Regions from separate parts of the Homo sapiens genome. Here region 1 is linked to region 2. The links are contacts of gene promoters, found by promoter capture Hi-C in blood cells and fetal thymus (Javierre and others, 2016). All regions are on one chromosome and are shown on one strand. Each heading gives the region's core, a stretch centred on a gene start or on the middle of the fragment in contact. The rest is flanking DNA. Distances are from core to core; before and after follow the strand shown.

Evidence for each region. The method cuts DNA at HindIII sites, captures the fragments that hold promoters and counts their contacts. A CHiCAGO score of 5 or more calls a contact.
Region 1: a fragment that was not itself captured here is called in contact with the fragment with the promoter of MRPL46 in region 2 in 5 of 17 cell types (naive CD4 T cells, naive B cells, total B cells and 2 more); the score reaches 7.0 in naive CD4 T cells.

What each region holds. Positions count from the first base shown.
Region 1 is chr15:89,054,322-89,059,369 of GRCh38, forward strand. The region is part of intron 1 of CARMAL (coronary artery disease region linked MFGE8 regulatory lncRNA); the gene reads left to right. It also overlaps a transcript of ABHD2 not described here. Among named protein-coding and RNA genes, the nearest start is that of CARMAL, 16 kb to the left of the region's middle. RefSeq lists an enhancer at 5,014-5,048. The HindIII fragment of the contact is 778 bases long and covers 3,195-3,972 here.
Region 2 is chr15:88,465,761-88,470,479 of GRCh38, forward strand. It overlaps MRPL46 (mitochondrial ribosomal protein L46), which reads right to left and starts at 1,628. Exons shown (of 4, transcript NM_022163.4): 1 at 1,390-1,628; 2 at 1-13. The coding sequence starts at 1,617. It overlaps MRPS11 (mitochondrial ribosomal protein S11), which reads left to right and starts at 1,948. Exons shown (of 6, transcript NM_022839.5): 1 at 1,948-2,022; 2 at 2,148-2,264. The coding sequence starts at 1,958. RefSeq lists enhancers at 1-1,162, 1,629-1,798. The HindIII fragment of the contact is 6,788 bases long and covers 1-4,719 here.

The DNA.
Region 1 (5,048 bases), core at 2,334-4,833, 590 kb after region 2:
AAAAAAAAAAAAAAGGATTTTTAAAAAAGAATTTATGCTGTGCCACCAAAATGTATGCATGTCAGAAATTGTACTTTGGCTAGGTGCAGTGGCTCACGCCTGTAATCCCGGCACTTTGGGAGGCCGAGGTGGGTGGATCACTTGAGGTCAGGAGTTTGAGACCAGCCTGACCAACAGGATGAAACCCCATCTCTACTAAAAATACAAAAATTAGCCAGGGTTGGTGGTGCACGCCTGTAGTCCCAGCTACTTGGAAGACCGAGGCAGGAGAATCGTTTGAACCCAGCAGAGGAGGATGCAGTGAGCCGAGGTTGTGCCACTGTACTCTAGCCTGGGCAACTGAGCAACACTCCATTTCAAAAAAAGAAAAAAGAAAAAAAAAAGAAAAGGCACCTGTAACCCAGAAACAACCACTGTTAATATTTCAGTGTTTATTCTTTCTCAAAGTCTTTTATTCTCTGCATATATTTTTATAAAATAGGGTAATACTATATGTACTGTTTGTAACATGGCTTTTCTTTAAACAGCTCTAAAAAAACATTTTTCTAAATAAATTAAAAATTGTCATTATATGTAGTGGGTATTCCATTGTGTGCAATGTGCTTAATCAATCTTCTATTGTTGCCAGGCAAGGTGGCTCACGACTGTAATCCTAGTAACTCGGGAGGCTGAGGTTGGAGGATCACTTGAGGCCCGGAGTCCAAGACCAGCCTCGGCAACCTAGCAAGACCCCATCTCTATGGCGCACACTTGCAGTTCCAGCTATTCTAGAGGCTGAGGCAAGGAGGATCACTTGAGCCCAGGAGTTCAAGACTGCAGTGAGCCATGATTGCGCCACTGTACTTCAACCTGAGTGATGAATTGAAACCCAGTCCAAAAAACTTTTTTTTTAAATCTCCTATTGTTGGTAATTTAGTTTGTGTCCAGTTTTAAAGTGTCTATCTTTTGATTTAACTATCCTACTTTTAGGACTATCTCCCACAAAAGTAAAACACTAGTTTCTTTTTTTTTTTTTTTTTTTTGAGACAAGGTTTCATTTCTGTTGCTCAGGCTGGAGTGCAGTGGCACGATCTCATCTCACTGCAACCTCTGCCTCCTGGACTCAAGCGATCCTCTCTCTCCTGCCTCAGCCTCTTGAGTAGCTGGGACTATAGGCGAATGCCATCATGCTCAGCTAATTTTAAGTATTTTTTTGTAGAGATGAGATTTCACCATGTTGCCCAAGCTGGTCTTGAACTCTGGACCACAAGCGATCCGCTGGCCTCGGCCTCCCAAAGTGCTGGGATTACAGCCTACTAGTTTATAATATTTACAGAGATGTTTATCACAATATTATTGATAATAGCAAAAATCACTAGAAACACCCTGGATGTCTACCAATATGGGGGCGGTTGAATAATCCATAGCATATTCTATACTATGAAATATTGAACTGCTATTAAGAGTGAGATGAAGTGAGATGAATCAATATTACTTGTCAAAATGATCATGATATGTGGCTAAGGGAAAATGTAGTTTACAAACTAATTGTGTAATGTGATTTTTGCTTTTTTGTTTTTACAGACTGGGTCTCACTCTGTCATCCAGGCTGGAGTGCAGTGGCGTGATCACGGCTCACTGCAGTCTTGACCTCCCGGGCTCACACAATCCTCCTGCCTCAGCCTCCTGAGTAGCTGGAGTCACCATGCCCAGCTAATTTTTAAAAATATTTTGTAGAGACAGAGTCTGCCTATGTTGCACAGGCTGGTCTCAAACTCCTGGCCTCAAGCAATCCTCTGACCACAGACTCCCAAAGTGCTGGGATTACAGATGTGAGCTGCCACGCCTAGCCTGATTTTTGCTTTTAATTAAAATTTTGTAAATGGAGGTGGGAATCCCTCTACGAATTTTTAATTTGTAACTATTCGTATCTTCCTAGGGAAAATAATAGGAAAAAAACTCACAAAACTGTTAATATTGCTCACCTCAGGAGATGGCATTGGAGATATTTGCTTAGTTACAAGAATATGTATGGATTTTGCAACTTGAATGACACAGTAAGAAAGAACACCATGCCCCAGTGCAGGATTGTGGCAGGAATTTGAATCTTTAATTCCTTCAGGCACCGGGCACAGATCGAGACCATCCTGGCTAACACGGTGAAACCCCGTCTCTACTAAAAATACAAAAAAATTAGCCAGGCATGGTGGCAGGTGCCTGTGGTCCCAGCTACTCAGGAGGCTGAGGCAGGAGAATGACGTGAACCCGGGAGGTGGAATTTGCAGTGAGCCGAGTTCGCACCACTGCACTCCAGCCTGGGCGACAGAGCAAGACTCCATCTCAAAAAAATAAAATAAAAAAATAAAATTCCTTCAGGGTGCTTGCAAAAGATAGAACAGTGCAATGAAAAAAATCAGACCCAGCAGCACTACTTATTACAACATGACCTTGAGTGAGTCATTCACCTCACTGGGCCTCAGTTTTCTTGTCTGTAAAATGGGACAATAGCAATCTCTACCTGTCAGAGTTTGTGTGCAGGCAGTCAGGAAATATAGTCAGTAGGCATTAAATTTTTTTCACACTGTTAATCCAGTTTATAAGTGATACCTTTTTTTTTTTTTTTTTTTTTTGAGATGGAGTTTTGCGCTTGTTGCCCAAGCTGGAGTGCAATGGCGCCATCTCGGCTCACTGCAATCTCCGCCTCCCGGGTTCAAGCGATTCTCCTGCCTCAGCCTCCTGAGTAGCTGGGATTACAGGCACACGCCACCACGCCCGGCTAATTTTTTGTATTTTTAGTAGAAATGGGGTTTCACCGTGTTAGCAGGCTGGTCTTGAACTCCTGACCTCAGGTGATCCGCCTGCGTCAGCCTCCCAAAGTGCTGGGATTACAAGCATGAGCCACTGCGCTAGGCCAGCGTGATACCATTTTTAAAAGTGTTAAGTGAAAAGGGTAAAGGATCTATTGAAGCCCCTTTGTAAGCATGTGAGTTCTGCTTGAGAAGCCACCCCCGGGTTAGCTCTTCTAAGCTGCTCATAGCTAATTCCCTTCCTTCATCTCCACTTCCCTTTGGGGTTTGGCGCAGTGATGATGGGGTTTCTGAAGATGAGGTAGGGCAGGGGTTACACAGTGACCACTGGGAAGTTGGGGACTGGCCGCCTCTGGAACTCCAAGGATTGATTTTCATGGTTAGCAAACAGCTGAGAGTTCTTTGGGAAGCTTCAATGGTGAAAATGCTATTTTTGGTAAGAGGGTAAGAATACAGCCCCTTCTTGTTTAGCCATGGTCGTGGAATCACGGTGGGGGCGTGCCTGGTGCATGGGCTCCTGAGAGGCAGGCCCCGTTGGGCTCACCCCCATTCCTGCTGCCATTCCCTCCATGGCCTCAGGGTGGCGCTGCTCCCTCTCCAACTGGGGCCATCTATTGCCACCATGCGGCTTCCCAGTGAAACCCGCTATTAATAAGAAGGAATGAAAAAAAAAAAAGAAAGAAACAAACCTGCCAGAACTTTCCAATCACACTGTCCTAAAAGCTGAGGACTAAGAAAACGAAGATAGATTCAGGGGACACCGTGAGTCAAAACTTTAGTTTGCCAGGTCTGACTTCTTTCCTGCAGCTCTTCGCCCTCTACCCAGTCCATCAGGGACCCCAGGACTAGGACTCCCTAGCTCCCCACTTACAAATTAAGCCCACCAACATTTGTGGGGCGCCAGGCAAGAGAACGAATGGAAGCTCACATACTCTATGTCTGCATATTTTCAAGTTGTTCAGTCAAGCTGATAAACCCTTAAATGAAGTATGCTCCATCCTTCCGCCTTGAGGTAGATACCTTCATAACCACCTAAAAGACCAGGTTGACTTTTAGGATTTTCAGCCTCCTTGGAGATCCATTCCCCTGGCTCTCCACTTCTGGCCCCAGGTCCACCCACCCACGCTCATCCTTTCAGATCGTGAGGAGCCTCACATACGTGTGGATACTCCAGCTCACACATCCAAGCTTCCTCCACACCCACACCCCTTACAACCCTGAAAACAGCTACCCCTTGGCCACTCCTAGTACCTAGCATGTGAACACAGGTAGTGAGGTCCACTCTTGGGAAGAGAGACCTAGAGAAAATGAAGATGCCCCGCAGGCACAGAAGAGGGCTTGCTGTAATTTGGACAGAAACTCTGGGGTCCTGGTACACGGAGCCTAGTCTTGGGTGGGTGTATGGACTCCCTTTGTAGAAAGGAACATGGCCCGAGGAGGTGCACAGCAGGAGCTTCTCCTGCTCTGGGCCCAGGGGATGGGGACAAGGAGAGATGACATCCTTAACTCCCTCCATCCCTCAGGAGTGCCCCTGGACATCGAGACTCCTGGAAATCTGGGTTGTGACAGGCCAAGTCCCTTCTTAATTCCTCTTTCCTGCTGTGGAGCCCCCTCATGTCCAATGATTGGCAGCAGGAAAGACCTCACTCTTCAGACAAGACCATAGTATCTGCCCTTGAAGCCTTTCTCTTTCAGCCCTCAACAATATCTCAATAAAAACAGCAATCCAACGTTGGACAGAAGCCTGCAGTAATGGGTGGTGGCGCAGAAGCCATCCTTTCAAGGGCACAGAGTGCCATTTCTCTCTCAAGGGATGGATAATTCCTGCCTTAATGCAACCTTCATCTGCCTAGTCACCAGCTGATGGGAAAGCAGCTCCAGCGAAAGATAAGGGCTCTTTGCCTGAAATGAAAAATTCATGAAGGAAGACTAGGAATGGGGCACGCAGAGAGCTGCCAAGTTGCTGTGCTCTGAGGACCTGACAAGAAGCTCAAAAAGCCAAATGGAAATTTTCTCTCCTCTCCAGCATCTCCCATCATGCCCTCTTCCATGTTTGGGGCTCTCTTCTCTGCTGTACCTGGTCACAGCTCTGCAGTCTCACCAATGCCCATATGCCAGGGGATCCAGGAAGAGGGGTACATCTGCCCACCCAGGCGAGCCACTTGACACCCACTCACATCCTCACAAAATGTTCGCTGTGGCTAGACAAGCTGGCATGGTTCTGACCACCTACCTGCCTAGACCAGACCTGGAGGAAATCCA
Region 2 (4,719 bases), core at 378-2,877:
TCTCTATCTCAATCTGGGAAAATTCAAAGGGCAAAAAACTACCTTAATCTGGCAAAATTAAAAGGAAAAAAAAAACAGGAAGAATAAAACAGAGACATGGCACACTTGGCAAGCTCAGAAGTTTATCACCCAACATAACCAGATACACAGTCAAAACACCATGCAGAAAGGAAATGGAGGGAAAAAAAGGTCCTCTGAACTTTGGGCTTGAGTTACATTTGCCAAAAATGTTACAATGTCACTGGGGGTCAAGAGTGCTACAAAAACAGAGAGCTGGGTTGGGCAATGCCTGCTGACTCACCACAATCCAGTCATGTCAGTCTTTGATCAGAATCTCACTCACCAAGGACTTTCCTGTTCAGGGACTTTCAAGAGGTTGTTCCTTCTTCCTAGAATGTTTTTCCTCACATTCTTTCTTCTGGGAGAGTCCTACTCATCTTTCTGATTTCAATTTAAATATGACTGTCTCAGAGAGACATTTCTCATAAAGAGAAAAACCTGTATTCAGAAAGTCTGAGGCATTCCTTGACACTCACCATAAAATCAAAATGTGATGTATTTGTTAAACACTCTTATAGTGCCTTGTGTTTTCCTTAACAACACTTATCAGGGTCTGCATTTAGTTGTATGATTATTTGGTTACTGACTGATCCCCTCACTCAACTAGACTGAAGTACTCTGAGAACCAGAGCTACTTCTGCCTTATTCATTACAGCATCTCTATCACTTAACATACTCTCTGATGCATAGTATGGGCACAATGAACATCTGTAGGTTGAGTAACAAATATTTGTCAAGCGAGCGAGTAAATGAATAAATCAAGCAAAAAGCACAGAAGAGAAGTTTATAGTTCTCAACAGACCAAGACAAAAACATCTCGGATTCTGAGGAAACATATCACCCTTCAAACACTTTCTGTAGCGACCTCACACCTTCACAGCCACTACACTGTTTTTGCCCATGCTTCCTCACTTGCCCCTCACACAGATAGCCCCATGAGATAAAACAGAGTAGGCTTATCATAGGCATCTGACAGATGTGCCCACCGCCTCTTGTATTTCCTTCTTAACATTCATCACATCACAAAGACTTTCTCCCTCCAGACTTGTAAGCTCCTAGTGACACGGACCGATTCTTGTTCACCACAGGATCCCTATTGTGTTGCATGAACAAGAAGTAGAGTATCTCCAAAGAGTTGTCTAAGGTGACAATAAACACGGCCAATGAAAAGAAACCACTTTTTGTTGAACATCTATGTACCAAACCAAGTCAGTAAGGTAGGTACCATTCTGCGGATAAGTACCGTATACTTAAGTTCAGAGAGGTGAAATTACTCGCTCAAAGTCACGCAGAATAAACGTCACTCTGAACCCTGCATCTCAGTCCCACCTGCTGCAGTAGAGACGCCATCTCTTCCTGCAATGGGGTCAACGGCTTGGAGACTACAGGTGGCCGCTGCAGGCACAACGCGCCCAACAAGCGCCATGGGGATCCGTTGCTTGAGGGTGCGGCTGCAAGAGCCAGGCTGCGAGAGCTTAGACTGCCGGCCCAGAGCCTCTCGAACCGCCGCCAACCCCCCGCCACCCCTAACAGCGTCCGCCTTACGGGCGCCGCCATCTTTCGTTCTCCCACAATGCACCGCGGCTCCCAGGGATCCCTCAGCCGCGGGAGCGGCAAACTAGGGGAAAGCTCAGTCCCGGAACTGCTAGAACGAACCATTCGCATATGGAGGGGGTGACCCACCATCTCAGAACATTAAAAAAGGGAAAGAATCCCCTGGTGAACTACAGTGAAAGTCTTATTGAGCATTTAAATGGAAATAAAAATATTCAGTGGACCTAATGAAGAGTAGATGACTTTCCCTTCTGTCCCCTCCCCGACAGGCACTCATGGTACCGGCGCCGGCGCAGCTGTGACTGTCGCTGCAGACGGAAACTGACTGGGGTCAATTCAAGTCATGCAGGCTGTGAGAAACGCGGGGTCGCGGTTCCTGCGGTCCTGGACTTGGCCCCAGACAGCCGGGTAACAAATGACTGCCCCCTCGAGCCCACCGCCACCTCCAGGACTATGCTCCTACTCGTGTCCCTTGAGCCACCCGGGCCCCAGTGACCGTTAGGCCGTGGCCCTCACCGAGCTTTTCTTCCCAGCAGGGTCGTGGCCAGAACGCCGGCCGGGACCATCTGCACAGGCGCTCGACAGCTCCAAGACGCTGCGGCCAAGCAGAAAGTTGAACAGAACGCGGCTCCCAGCCACACCAAGTTCAGGTGAGCCCCACTTGGACCAGCCCTCTGGAGACCCGCAACCCCTGACTCTTGCCCGACACCCTCCAGAGTCAGAACCAGTGAATTTTCAGCTATGTCACTTGCTATCCGTGGGACCTTATGCAAATAAATCTGAGCCTCAGCCTTCTCATCTAAAAATGCGGATAATGCTGAGAGAGGTTGTGAGAATCAGATGAGCCGTGGTACAGAGTAAATGTTCAGTGAACATTCGTTAAATCAATGAGTGAATGTGAGATATCCATAACATGTATCAGCGTTCTTTTCTTCTGAGATGGAGATCTTTTCAGACCAATAACCTTCCCTGCCTCCAAAACAAAATGGGGAGGTAGAGGGCGCTAGCGATGGAACAGATGTTCCTGCACGTCTTACGGATGGTCCAGGGTGGGTTTTGTGCTCAGCCCTAGGAACTGGCATCTTGCTTCCCACCAGTGCCACCACCTCTGTATGCTGTATACACATCCACTTAACTTCACATCCATTTAACAAACATTTACCAAGAATCTACTATGAGTGAGACACCATGCTAGGTGCCGTGAATACAGATACAAAAGATCATTCCTCCCCACAAGTAGTTCACAGTCTTTGAGGGAAGACAAACATGCAAACATTTTAACCATAATCTGCTCAATAATATAATGGAGGTAAGCATTGGTTGGAAGTATGAAATCATAAGTGTCTAACTCCTGGCCGGGTGCAGTAGCTCATGCCTTTAATCCCAGCACTTTAGGCGGCCAAGGTGGGCGAATTACTTGAGGTCAGGAGATCGAGACCAGCCTGGCCAACATGGCGAAACCCCGTCTCCACTAAAAGCACAAAAACTAGCCAGGCGTGATGTCTGGCACCTGTAATCCCAGCCACTCAGGAGGCTGAAGTAGAAGAATCGCATGAACCCAGGGAGCGGAGGTTGCAGTGAGCCAAGATCACGCCACTGTACTCCAGCCTGGGTGACAGATTGAGACTCTGTCTCAAAGAAAAAAAAAAAAAAAAAGAATAAGTGTCTCATTCCTGAGGAAATCAGGCAAGACCATGGAGAAAAGAACATGGAGCTCAGAAGTGAATGGGAGTTCATCTGGACAAGTTGAAGTGGGTCATTGGAGACAAAGGTAACCATCTGTGTAAAGGCATGTGGTATGAAAAAACATGGTGTGTTCAGGTGTGTATGTGATGGCAGATGAGGCCAACAAGACAAGAAGGCATCAGAATGCCAGGGGTCTTGTCTGTCACACTGGAGCTTTTACGCTGTCCCCACTGAAGGCAGTGAGGAGCTGCTGAAAGCATCTAAACCAAGATTCTGTTGTAGTCATTTCTTCAACAATGCCAGGCACTGTTCAGAGTGTTGGGGATATATCCCTGACCAAACAGACAAAAAGCCCTGCCCTCATAGAACTTAAATTCCAGTGGGTAGAAGACAGTAAATAGAAAACAAGTAAAATGTAGGAGTATAACGGTTGGAAAGGGGAAGTGGGGGTCAAGCAGGCCTGCATAGCCACATTCTGTAGGACTTTGTAGGCCGTTGTGAGGACTTCAGCTTTTACTGTGAATGAAATGGGAGGCCAATGGAAATTGCTGAATAAAGGGTTGACATGATCTTGCTGACAAGATCTTGTAAGCTCTTTGGCTGCTGTGTTGATATTAAACCATTGGAGAGCAAGAATGGAAGCTGGGAAAAGTCCTCTAAGCAGTTAGAAGACTATTGAAATAATCCAGACAAGAAACAATGGTGGCTTGGACCATGGTTATTGCCATGGAGGTATTATGAATGGTCTGACATATTTTGAAGGTAGAACAAGCAGGATTTGTTAATATACAGTGTGAGAAAAAGGAGCGAAGGAAGACCCCAAATTTTGTTGGCCTAAACAACTGGAAAGACGGAGTTGTCATTGATTAAGATGGGGAAGACTGCAGGAGTTTGGATGGGAGTTGTTAAGGTTGAGATTCTTAATAAACATTCAAGTGGAGACACAATGTAGACCATTAGAAATGGAGCTCAAGGGCCGGGCGCGGTGGCTCACACCTGTAATCCCAGCACTTTGGGAGGCCGAGGCAGGCGGATCACCGGGTCAGGCATTTTAGACCAACCTGACCAACATGGTGAAACCCCGTCTCTACTAAAAATACAAAAATTAGCCAGGTGTGGTGGCGTGGGTCTATAATCCCAGCTACCCAGGACGCTGAGGCAGGAGAATCACTTGAACCCCGGAGACGGAGGTTGCAGTGAGCCAAGATCGTGCCACTGCAGTCCAGCCTGGACGAGACTCCATCTCAAAAAAACAAACAAGCAAAAAAAGAAATGGAGTTCAAGAGTCAGACTTCAGACTTTAGCTAGAGATATACAGTTGGGAGACATCATAGAGATGATATTTAAAACCATGAGATGACAAAATCATTAATACCATAAATGTAGATGAAGAGAAGAGGTCCAAGGACTGAACCCTGG